2 separate regions of the Homo sapiens genome follow, and region 2 is linked to region 1. The links are contacts of gene promoters, found by promoter capture Hi-C in human tissues and cell types (Jung and others, 2019). All regions are on one chromosome and are shown on one strand. The core of a region is centred on a gene start or on the middle of the fragment in contact, and the rest is flanking DNA. Distances in the headings are between cores, read along the strand shown. Region 1 holds the start of FTL (ferritin light chain). Region 2 holds the start of CYTH2 (cytohesin 2).

The links. Contacts are between HindIII fragments. The study calls those that stand out against the background at their distance.
Region 2: a contact is called between the fragment with the promoter of CYTH2 here and the fragment with the promoter of FTL in region 1, in 1 of the 25 tissues and cell types used here (dorsolateral prefrontal cortex).

What each region holds. Positions count from the first base shown.
Region 1 is chr19:48,962,668-48,969,009 of GRCh38, reverse strand. It overlaps FTL (ferritin light chain), which reads right to left and starts at 3,701. Exons shown (of 4, transcript NM_000146.4): 1 at 3,401-3,701; 2 at 3,094-3,240; 3 at 2,604-2,729; 4 at 2,131-2,427. The coding sequence starts at 3,502. The coding sequence ends at 2,275. GYS1 (glycogen synthase 1) reads left to right here. Exons shown (of 16, transcript NM_002103.5): 16 at 1-880. RefSeq lists enhancers at 452-681, 3,412-3,461, 5,011-5,120, a silencer at 3,712-3,871 and cis regulatory regions at 4,802-5,302, 6,242-6,342. The HindIII fragment of the contact is 5,012 bases long and covers 1,632-6,342 here.
Region 2 is chr19:48,466,403-48,472,064 of GRCh38, reverse strand. It overlaps CYTH2 (cytohesin 2), which reads right to left and starts at 2,696. Exons shown (of 12, transcript NM_004228.7): 1 at 2,539-2,696; 2 at 1,565-1,712; 3 at 1,396-1,462. The coding sequence starts at 2,557. It overlaps LOC105372430 (a long non-coding RNA gene), which reads left to right and starts at 2,532. Exons shown (of 3, transcript NR_186576.1): 1 at 2,532-3,054; 2 at 5,458-5,496. KCNJ14 (potassium inwardly rectifying channel subfamily J member 14) reads right to left here. Exons shown (of 3, transcript NM_013348.4): 3 at 5,085-5,662. RefSeq lists a silencer at 2,491-2,680 and enhancers at 2,044-3,037, 3,231-3,390, 3,095-3,595. The HindIII fragment of the contact is 6,294 bases long and covers 807-5,662 here.

The DNA.
Region 1 (6,342 bases), core at 2,452-4,951:
CCATTACTCTGCGGTGGTGCCAGAGGTTTTAGGAAACCTGGCATGGTGCTTTCAGGTCTGGGGCTTTTAGAGCCCCCCGTGTGGCTTACAAATTCTACAGCATACAGAGCAGGCCACGCTCAGGCCCGGCATGCGGGCCACCAAGTTCTGGAAACCACGTGGTGTCCCTGCGAATGGGGCGATCAAGTCCAGAGCCGGGGCACTTTCAGAGTTTGAAGGTAACTGAGAGCAGATGGTCCTCCATTTCAACTCCAGAAGTGGGGCTCTGGGAGGGATGTTCTAGCCCTCCCTGGCATGTCAGAGCCAGGCTCTGCCTGGAGGATCCCTCCATCCGGCTCCTGTCATCCCCTACACTTTGGCCAAGCAAGAGGTGGTAGAACCACTTGGCTGCTCATTCCTTCTGGAGGACACACAGTCTCAGTCCAGATGCCTTCCTGTCTTTCTGGCCCTTTCTGGACCAGATCCTACTCTTCCTTTCTAAATCTGAGATCTCCCTCCAGGGAATCCGCCTGCAGAGGACAGAGCTGGCTGTCTTCCCCCACCCCTAACCTGGCTTATTCCCAACTGCTCTGCCCACTGTGAAACCACTAGGTTCTAGGTCCTGGCTTCTAGATCTGGAACCTTACCACGTTACTGCATACTGATCCCTTTCCCATGATCCAGAACTGAGGTCACTGGGTTCTAGAACCCCCACATTTACCTCGAGGCTCTTCCATCCCCAAACTGTGCCCTGCCTTCAGCTTTGGTGAAAGGGAGGGCCCCTCATGTGTGCTGTGCTGTGTCTGCACCGCTTGGTTTGCAGTTGAGAGGGGAGGGCAGGAGGGGTGTGATTGGAGTGTGTCCGGAGATGAGATGAAAAAAATACATCTATATTTAAGAATCCCAGGTGTGGTCAGACATGACACTTGGTGGGCCTGGCTGTGACGTCCCCCCAGTACCACCCCTTCCCTGGTCTGAGCTCATCCTCTTATTCTAGAGAGACTTGGGGGGTCTCCCTATGTTGCTTAGGCTGGTCTCAACCTCCTGGGCTCAAGTGATCGTCCTGCCTTGGCCTCCCAAAGTGCTGGGATTACAGGCTTGAACCACCCTGCCCCAGACCCAGGGGAAGGAGAAGGGGAAGAGTCAGAGCTGACACAGCAGTTTTGCAGCTTGGACACAGCAAGTGCTTTTTAAGGCCTGTTTTAAGCTTCTTCAGTTCCCATTTGGAGAATCCGGCCCAAGGTTTCACATCCCATTTCTGTGATGAACCCTAAACCCCTTGTCCAGCATTGCTTGGGCATCACGTGTTCCTGGCTGCTCAGCTCCACTGGCCAGTTCCTCTCAGTGTGCGCCTCACATTGGGATCACTCAAGCTCGGGCCATAATCTCTTAAACTCTGGAGCAAAGACCTCAGTGAGCCCCCCGGTTGCCATGCAAGTTGCATAGCAATAGCGTCAATGTGCCCATATAAAGGGCCTAATAATTCCAACTGCCTCCCAGAATTGAGGCTTTTTTCTTTTTTGAGACAGAGTCTTACTCTGTTGCCCAAGCTGGAGCACAGTGGCGCCATCTCAGCTCACCGCAACTTCCGTGAGGCAGACATGTTTTTTGTTTGAGATGGGAGTTCCACTCTTTTTGCCCAGGCTGGAGTGCAATGACGCCATCTCAGCTCACTGCAACCTCCGCCTCCCAGATTCAAGCGATTCTCCTACCTCAACCTCCTGACTAGCTGGGATTACAGGTATGAGCCACCACACCCAGCTAATTTTGTATTTTAGTAGAGACGGGGTTTCTTCATGTTGGTCAGGCTGGTCTCGAACTCCTGACATCAGGTGAGCGACCCACCTGGCCCCATAATCACTCGTTAAATAGGGCTGTTTCTGGCTGAGACCTAACATCTGTTTCTAGATACCAACCTAGGTCTTAATTCAACTCCCTGGAGTCTATCTCTACCATCTGGGAGGGACAGTTAACAGCCAGGCAAGCAGAGAACCCTCAGGTTCAACACTACCCAGATAGCCTCTTGTCTTAGGACAGTTAAGAAAATGGGAGATGGGGCCAACTCCTCTTTCACTGGCATCCCAACCCAGCCAGAAGCTTTATGAGAACAGATCCCACCTCATCTTCCACACCACACACAAAACCACCAGCTGCATCAAAAAGCTTTATTTCCATTTGGTCCAAGGCTTGTTAGGATAGTTAAGAAAGCTGCCTATTGGCTGGAGGGAGAGGCTTAGGCAGAAGCCCTATTACTTTGCAAGGGGCCCTTCAGAAGTCGCTGGGCTCAGAAGGCTCTTAGTCGTGCTTGAGAGTGAGCCTTTCGAAGAGATACTCGCCCAGCCCAGCCTCCGGGCCACCCAGCCTGTGGAGGTTGGTCAGGTGGTCACCCATCTTCTTGATAAGCTTCACTTCCTCATCTAGGAAGTGAGTCTCCAGGAAGTCACAGAGCTGAGAGAGAAGAGGGAGAAATTAGAAACCCAATCCCTGGAAAAGAGGGGGAGAGAGCAGCCAGTTGCAGATTAAAATGTGACAGGTGTGAAATGAGGCTCTGAAGGAAATTTGCCCAAAGGGAGCAGAGGCTTGAGGGGTATGGTTGGGTAGCCATGGATGCAGCGGGTACGTACATGGGGGTCCGTGCGGGCAGAACCCAGGGCATGAAGATCCAAAAGGGCCTGGTTCAGCTTTTTCTCCAGGGCCATGGCAGCTTTCATGGCGTCTGGGGTTTTACCCCACTCATCTTCAGCTGGCTTCTATATAGAAGGGAGAAATGGCTCAGAATACACACACTCGGCACATAGAACTAAACCTACATTTCCCAAGAGTCGTTGGGGGTCAGAGGCCCAGGCCACAAAGACATGTGACAGCTTGTATTTATCACTCTCCGCACCCTGTCCTAGCTCTTACAGCTATACGTCCCTAAGACCACGCAGCGGTGTGGACTGCCGCGTGTTGTGGGCACTGCACGAGGTGCGCCTCTATTTCCAGCGGTTAAGAGGGCTCACAAGACCGAACTCAATCTCCCAGAAGCCCACGCGACACCTACGCCCTCAAATCAAGGCTCCTCGCGCGCACGGCCTGCTGGGAGATGTAGTCCATTACCCACACACTAGTTACCTTGATGTCCTGGAAGAGAGCGCGGCCGCCACGCTGGTTTTGCATCTTCAGGAGACGCTCGTAGCCCTCGCGCTTCTCCTCGGCCAATTCGCGGAAGAAGTGGCTCACGCCTTCCAGAGCCACATCATCGCGGTCGAAATAGAAGCCCTACGGGAAGAGATGGAGGCAACAATGGTTAGCGGGAGGCGAGGCCAAGGGGACTCCGCCCTCTGTTTACCCGACCGCACAAAGAAGGCTGGCGCGTGCAGTGAGGGCCGGAGGTGCGCAGCTGGAGGAAATTAGGGCCAGGGGCGTCCTGGGGACTCACCAGAGAGAGGTAGGTGTAGGAGGCCTGCAGGTACAAATTGACCAGGCTGTTGACGGCTGCCTCCACGTCGGTGGAATAATTCTGACGAATCTGGGAGCTCATGGTTGGTTGGCAAGAAGGAGCTAACCACAAAAACGGTGCTGGCAGGTCCCAGAAGCAGGAGATGGCCGAGAAGATGGTCCCGGAGGTTGCAAGCGGAGAGGAAATCGGAGGGCGGTCGGAGGCTGGAAGAGAGTCCCCGGATCTGTTCCGTCCAAACACTGTTGAAGCAAGAGACAGACCCGCGGGACCGCCGAACTGCGAGGGGACGTGGCTAGGGCGGCTTCTTTTATGGTGCGCCGGCCCTCGGAGGCAGGGCGCTCGGGGAGGGCTAGCGGCCAATCTGCGGTGGCAGGAGGCGGGGCCGAAGGCCGTGCCTGACCAATCCGGAGCACATAGGAGTCTCAGCCCCCCGCCCCAAAGCAAGGGGAAGTCACGCGCCTGTAGCGCCAGCGTGTTGTGAAATGGGGGCTTGGGGGGGTTGGGGCCCTGGGGCTGATTCTGGAAATGCAGGGGTTCGTGGGCGGGAGGGTGGGGGCTGGGGTCCCTCTGGGAGGCTAGAGTTTTATGGGAGCACTAACAGCCCTGTGAACTGATGACCCTGGGGTCCTGGGGTGCCTCGGGAAAGTAAGATTCTGGGGTTTCCGAGGGCATGGATTTTTCTGGAACCTTGAGTGGGGGGAGGGGCACCTCAAAGGTGCAGGGAGGACCTGTAGTTGCCTGAGGTTTGCGCTGCGAGATAAGGAGTCTCCGGATCCTTGGGAAGCTTGGAAGGCTGTGAGGTGTTATTTCTGGACCCCTGGAGATCTCTGGAAGATGGAGTGTTGCGGGGACTGGAGTCCTGGGATTTACAGGGGTGGGGGTTCACGATGCAAACTCTCTATATTTTGGAGCCCTCCCCGGGGAAATCTTTAGGTTCTTGAGGTGCTCTGCAAGTTGGAAAGGGCAGTTATTCTGGAGCCGTGGGTTTCACCCAGTGCGGGAAGCCCAGGAGGAGCATTGTATGAGGTAGGGTGACTTCTGGAACCCTGGACAGCCCTCTGGAACCCTCCAAAGATGGGCTGGGACTTTGGGGATACCTTGGAGCTCTTTCAGGGGCCCAGGCTTTTTCTGGGAGTGGAAATGGGGAGGAATGAAAAGTCTGTTTTGAGCTTTGCGGTGTCTCTGGGATTGCATTTCCTGGAGGCTGTTTTGGAGACAACTCACAGACTTCGAGAATTCTCCGTGGCCCTGAACAGTGTCTCTGAAGTTGCCCTCGTGTCTTGCCTGACGTGTGCTCCTTCAGGCCCACAAAGAGAAGCCCTGCGTTGTGGACAAACAGTCTGGGGACCTATGGACGAGACGTCTGTCTTCGACTAATGCATATTTTTTAAGTGGGCCTGGTCCACGTTGATTTCTGGGAGACGGAGTCGGCGCAAACCTTGACTCTACTTAAGTGCCCTGATGGAGGCAGCCCGTGCGCTGGGCAGGGAGCTGAAGCCACTGGGGTGTGGGGTGAGGTCAGGCCCTGCCCTACAGAGGAGCTGCTCCGAACAGCCCAGGCGGGGCAGCCCCTGACCGAGGGGATCTGCAGATGCCCCGCCAGGCCGGTATCTGGGGTCCTTGTTGCAGGCAGCGACTGCTGAGTCATGCTGAGCTCAGCGCGGGAAGGGGCCCCCGCGGGGACGGATGGGGGTGGGGCCACTCGCTGACCTCATCCCCTTGGCACTCCCCGACTTTTTTGGTGGGACCCTCAGAACTAGACCTGGCTCAGACCCAAATCGGGCCCCCTACCCCAAGGTCCCCCCTTGTTGGAAGCCGGCTGTGTGCTTTGTCTCCGTGTCTTTTTGGTTCCCATAATTTTTTTTTTTCTGGGATCCTGCCTGTGGCCATATTGTCCCCTCACTCTGGGTGGTGGCTCAGTGTACACTCATTGATCCTCTGCCCCTCTCTCTCCCCTGACTTGGGGTCTCTGGGAAGAGTCCATGGAGGAGGGGCAGCCGTCCAAAGCACCCCGTTGACTGTGGGGCCCGAGTTACTCATTTACCAAATGTCATACCTCAGCCCAGAGACCTTTAGTCGGCCGAGAGGGGCCTTGGGGCCCATAGGTGGAGGGAGAGGAGGGGCTGAGAGAGACAGGATCTGAAGACCATAGAGAACGTGGGGTGGGGAGACAGAGGCCCAGAGAAAAAGAGACTCAGACAGAGACCCTGAGAGAGAGGGGGACAGAGACCCAGAGAGAGGGGAAAACAGACCCGGAGACAGAGGGGTACAGAGACCCTGAGAGAGAGGGGAGGGGGACAGACCTAGAGAGAGGAGGGCAGAGACCCAGAGGGAGGGGAAAAGAGACCCAGAGAGAGGGGGGGACAGAGGTGGGGGGGGACAGAGGCAGGGAGGTACAGAGACCCAGGGGTGGGGGGGATAGAGACCCAGAGGGACCCGGCGGGAGGGGACAGAAATCCAGAGTGGGGGACAGAGATCCAGAGAGAGGTGGGGACAGAGATCCAGAGAAGGGGGTACAGAGACCCAGAGAGAGGGGGGACAGGGACTCAGAGAGAAGGGGACAGAGACTAGGGAGGACTGAGACCTGGGGGGGCGGGGACAGGGACCCGGGGGCGGGGGACAGAGACCGGGGAGAGGGAAAGAGACCCAGAGAGAGGGGAGGTACAGAGACCCAAGAGAGAGTGACAGCCAGAGAGAGGACAGAGACCCAGAGAGAGGGAGACAGAAACTCAGGGTCGGGGGACAGACCCAGAGAGAGATGGGGGGCCAGAGATCCAGAGGGGGGGACAGAGACCCAGAGAGAGGGGGCCAGAGGTCTGGGTGCCAGGGGTGGAAAGAGGCCCAGAGAAAGAGGGCCAAAGGTGGGGTGGGAACAGAGGCTCGGAAAGCAAAGACCCAGAGCATGGGGACAGAGACCCAGA
Region 2 (5,662 bases), core at 1,447-3,946, 500 kb after region 1:
CTCTTTTTTCTGAGACCTGGTCTCGCTCTATTGCAGACTGGAGTGCAGTGGCGTGATCACAGCTCATTGCAGCTTCGAACTGCTGGGCTCAAGGGATCCTCTCACTTCGGCCTCCTCAGAAGCTGGGACTATAGGCATGCCCCAACACACCTGGCTAATTTATTTATTTATATTTTTTCTAGAGATGAGTTATCACTATGCTGCCCAGGCTGGTCTCAAATTCCTGGCTTCAAGCAATCCTCCCTCCTCGGCCTCTCAAAGCACTGGGATTACAGGCATAAGCCACCGAACCCAGCCAATCAATGTTTGTTGAATGACTGAACAGAATTCCAATTGCTTCAGGAAAGAATAACGTGACAACCTGTTAGCAGACGCAGTCCTTCAAGGGCTGTGAACTCGAAGCCCTGGCTAGACTGGAGGTTTCTCTCACTCTCTGTGCTACGAAGACCTCTCTACTACTGCTTTATCTCACTGTGAACTGTGGTATCGGTGTCCAAGGGCTCTCTGAGCACAAGGCAGCATCTAATTCTTCTTTGGGTCCCCAGCATTGCCCTACACAGGATCAGACTCTTGAGAGGCCTCAGAAAATGGGTGTTAAATGAGTATGTGAACAGGCCAGGCACGGTGGCTCATGCCTGTAATCCCAACACTTTGGGAGGCTGAGGCGGGCGGATCACCTGACGTCAGGAGTTTGGAAGCAGCCTGGCCAACATGGTGAAACCCCATCTGTACTAAAAATACAAAAATTAGCTGGGCATGGTGGTGGGAGCCTGTAAGCCCAGCTACTTGGGAGGCTGAGGCAGGAGAATCGCAGGAGGCGGAGGTTAGTGAGCCGAGATCACATCGCTGCACTCCAGCCTGGGTGATAGAGCAAGACTCTGTCTCACACACACACACAAAGAGTAGGTGAACAAAAGCCTTTCCTCCACCTGGTGAACACCTACTCATCCTTCAAACCCGACCTGAATGTCTCCTCCTCAAGGAAGCCCTCCCTGACTCCACCAGCCTGCCTCCTCCAGAGGTCCACTACCCTGATACCTTCCTCCGTCACGGCACCTTTGTGGGAGAGAGGTCAACTCTCCTTTGTGCATGTCACTTTGTCCACAGCCCCTACAAGACTCGAGCTCATCTTGGGACCAGAAATGCGCCCATACAAGTAGAAAGTGGAAGACGACCTTCCAGGCAGGGGACAAAACAGTCAGGAGGGCTGGAACACTTGGTCAGTGTTCAGTGTTCAGAAAACAAATGGACAGCCAGTATCTGAATCCAGGGATTAGGACCAAGTCTGTCCACCTAGAATAGACCCGGCACCATCACGCTTCTGGAACCCGGAGGTGCCAGAAGCCCCTGCCTGGATGTTTGCCCAGCTGATCCCAGTCCTGTGGCCCCAAGCACCTTCTTGGGGTCCATGTTGAACTTCTTCCTGCCCATTGCCATCTTCCGGTTCCGTTGCAAGGTCTTACTGCAGGAGCAGAGAGCAGGGTTGGGGGTGGAGGGTCAATGCCTGGGCATCCCTGGCCTCAGCCAACCCCACGCCCCCTAGGTCATCCGCCCCAGCCCTCACCTGCCCTCATTGGCCTCCAGCCCCTCCACCTCGCTCATGGCTTCACTGAGCTCCTCCCGCAGGCGCTGAATCTCCACCAGCAGCTCCTGCTTCCGCCGCCGGATGTTCTCCAGCTCCATCCGCTCCTCCGGAGTCAGGTCTGGGGGTTCTAGGGATCGGGGTCAAGGTTTAAAAGTCAGTGCTAGGGGCCGTGAGCCTGAATTCCTGCAATCTGGGGGCGGACAGAGCTGGGAGAGGATGTGTAAGGGGCTTCCTATGTCTGCACAGAAGAATGGGCTGGGGGCCTGGATTCCTCCCTGCAGAGGAGAAAGAGCTGGGGCTCTAAACTCTTGAGTCCTGGGGGACAAGGGGAATTGGGGCCCGGATTCCTGAGTCTGAGGGAGAAGGGGAATGGGTGCCTGAGCTCTTAGATCTGAGGGAAGAAAGGGCTGGGGGCCTCGGCTTCTAGGTCCATTACTTGGAAGGGGACTGAGGCCTTGGTTTTCTGACTCCATTACTGGCGAGGTAGCTGGGGACCTGGTTATCCGGACTACTGGGTCCATGAAAAGTCACTACAGCCGGGGGAACTGATGACAGCTCAGGAGAGTTGGGAAGGTGGGGCGGGACATCGAAGGCCCCCGCCCCCCAAGATTTCTCCCCTCCCCGCAACCCAAGCGCCCCTCCCCGGCCCCGGCAGGCGCTGGGCTCGCCCGCCCCTCCAGCGGGAATGGTTCCGCCCCGGCCTCGCCTCCACCACTCCATCCCGCCCCTCCCGCCGCCACCGGAAACAGGCTCAGCCCAAACAATGGCCTGGAACGCCCGGCTTTCGGGCCCCGCCGGAAGCCCGTCCAGCGCCCAACAAAAGCGGCGCGACAAGTCTACGACTGAGCCGAACGCTTCTGGGCGCCGCGCGCCAGGGGGAAACGTTCGCGGCGGAACGTTCAGGAGAAAACGCTCCAGCAACTCCCAGCCGACCCCGCCCCTCCCCGACCTACCATAGACGCCGTCCTCCATGGCGGCTAGGAAGGCCCGCGGGGAATCCGGGGCGGTCCCGCCAGTCGGGCCTGGATCCGCGTTGGCCCGCGGGCTCGGGTGAGCCCGCTCAAACGCCCCGGGAGCCACCGCCGCCTCCTCAGCGCCAGTCCTCAGCGCTGAAAAGACTCTTCCCTTCGTCGCCCAACCGCCCCTTCAGTAGGGACCGCCCCTCTTTTTGACACTGTCCAATCCACAGTGGGCGCTTTCGTCCTCCCCGCCCTCGCCACCAAAGGATCGTTCTCCAGGGCCAACAGTCGTACAAAAAGCCGGTGTAGGTATGTCCGGCCAGAGGTAGACGGCCCGCGGGGCCAATCGGAGTGCAGGCAGGGCAGCAGGCCCCGCCTCCGAAACAACAGAAAGCACTTGACAGGCTTGCTCTCCAATGAGAAGCCCCGGAAAAGTGTCGCGCGGAGGCGGAGCCACGCGGTACAGCCACCTCTGCGCCTGCTCAAAGGCCCTGGACACTTGGAGTCTAGGTAAACCGAGCCCCGCCTCCGATAATACGTTGCTAGGGGGCGGTACTTTGTTAGTCTTGTTGCTAGGAGGCGGGGCTAGAACTGGCTTGTTTCCGTAAGCCACACCTCCTAGCAGGCCATGCTGGCTTCTGACCGCAAAGGTTGCCATGCAACCGGGAGCGGCTTTAGGCCTCCTTTTCTTTTGCATTTCTTCTCCGCGTATTTCCCCTCCTCTCAGCCCCTTCTTACCGCCGAACTCCTTCTTTATCACCATCTATGCCCTCCCCATCCCCCTCAGCCTCTTCGGAGTCGTGGAGTGGTGAAACAAAAGACTTCTTCGTTTTTTCTTTTTTTTTTTTTTTTGAGACAGAGTCTTGCTCTGTCGCCCAAGCTGGAGTGCAGTTGCGCGATCTCGGTTCACTGCAACCTCCGCCTCCCGGGTTCAAGCAATTCTCCTGCCTCAGCCTCCCGAGTAGCTGGGATTACAGGGTTGCACCATGATGGTGCATGCCTGGCTATTTTTTGTATTTTTAATAGAGACGGGCGTTTCACCATGTTGGCCAAGCTGGTCTCGAACTCCTGACCTCATGATCCGCCCACCTTGGCCCTCCAAAGTGCTGGGGTTACAGGCGTGAGCCACCGCGCCTGGCCAAGATTTACTTTTTTCTAAATGCTATGCTATTTGGTATCGGTCATGGGGAATGGAACAGGGGAAGGTGAAATTTAGTGAAAGCACAGGCTCGGCCTTCCTGGCACCTTCTGCCGCTCAGACTCCTCCCTCATTTCTCCAAACTCCTTCCTTTAGCTTAGCATCCTCCTAAGACTCCTCCCTTCCCCAAGCATCCTCCTGCTAAGACAACTCCCCTTTCCTCAGCATCCTCCCACCTCTCTGATTCCTTCTCCCATCTCAGAGGCCTTTTTTCCTCTCTGGCTCCCCTCACGTCACGGTCCCCCTTGTCCTCTCATACTCTTGCCCTTTTTTTTTTTTTTTTTTTTTTTGAGACAGAGTTTTGCTCTTTTGCCCAGTCTGGAATGAACTGGCATGATCTCAGCTCACTGCAACCTCCACCCACAAGGTTGACGCGATACTCCTACCTCAGCCTCCCAAGGAGCTGGGATTATAGGCGCCCACCACCATGCCCGGCTAATTTTTGTATTTTTAGTAGAGACGGGGTTTCGCCATGTTGGCCAGGCTGGTCTCAAACTCCTGACCTCAGGTGATCCACCCGCCTCAGCCTCCCAAAGTGCTAGGCGTGAGCCACCGTGCCCATAGGCGTGAGCCACCGTGCCCAGCCACCCTTGCCCTTCTTAAACTCCTCCCTCCTCTGAGGCCCCTTCCCCTTCCCCTTCCCCAGCCTCTATGTCCCATTATTTGTAACGGAATGTGGTCAAGGGACTGGCTGGAATAGGGAACCCAGGCACCCCTGTAAAGAGGGAAGCCGTAATGGGGGCTGAAGTGGTGTCTGGGCCTCGTCCTCATTTGCTGTCCCTGGGCTGGGCAGGTGGAGACGGATTCAGGGCCAGGACCTAGTTAAGCTGTCGGATTAGACATGGAGGCTCCTAATCCCCTCACTGACCTTTATGAGTGGCCCAGGCCCTGCCCTCCCCAGTGGAAACCCAGGCTGGGCTGCCCTGCTCCCATACTCCTTTCAAACGAAACCCCCTCCCTGCCCCTTCACTTCCAACTTAACATCCTTCCCCAACCCTGCGTTTCCATTGCCCCCATCCCTACCTACCCCAGACACCCTGAGCTGAGAGAGCAGCCAGCTAATTAATCCCATCCGGTTATTACATGGGGATTCTGAGGGATAAAGGGAGATGGAGAAGCTGGAGGGGGCATTTGGGTTGATGCAGCACTTGTGAAGGCTGAATGGCAATGACAGTGGCTGCCCTCGGTCCAGAACACGGGGTGGGAACACGTCCTCCTCACTGTCACTGGCTCCCTCTGCAGTTGGCTCCCAGCCTGCGGGGCACTTAGGTAGATGGTAGCATGGGCAGGGGGCCAGGTCGGAGGACCCATGCTCGAGAAACACATTCGCAGACACATCCGCTAGGGCTCCCAGTTCTTTAATCTGGGGGACAGGTCTCCCCCTAAAACACTCACTCTCCCACAATGGGAAGAACCCTGGTGTCCAGAGCTACCTCCTCCTCCCCAGGTCCCCAAGCTAGGCCAGGGAAGTGACTCTGGCTGTTAGCCACAGCCCACGCCTACCCTTGCCCTGTGATTCAGACACCCGAGTTCAGAGCCAGCCTCCAAGAGTATCTTACATCCCAGCGTCTCCTGGAAGGCCGTATGATCCAGCACTGGGGAGAGGAGGGAAATCCCCAGGACTCGAATGCCCATCCCACCCTTGGTGTAGTGAGGACTCATCCTGCTGGAAAGGCCCCTGAAGAACTTCAAGTTCCAATATCCCGTTTTTACAGATGGGGAAACTGACATGAAGAGGAGTCCAAAGTGACACAGTAAGTTGGGGCAGCATTGGGATTTAGAGCAAAGCTTCTGGGGTCCTTGAAAAGGACCTCATTCCAATTAGCTAGCACTCCATCTCTAAGCCTGTTGTAGGGACCAAGGGAAAAAATAGATAGATATCTGTATTTATATTACATATATATAATATACATATGTATA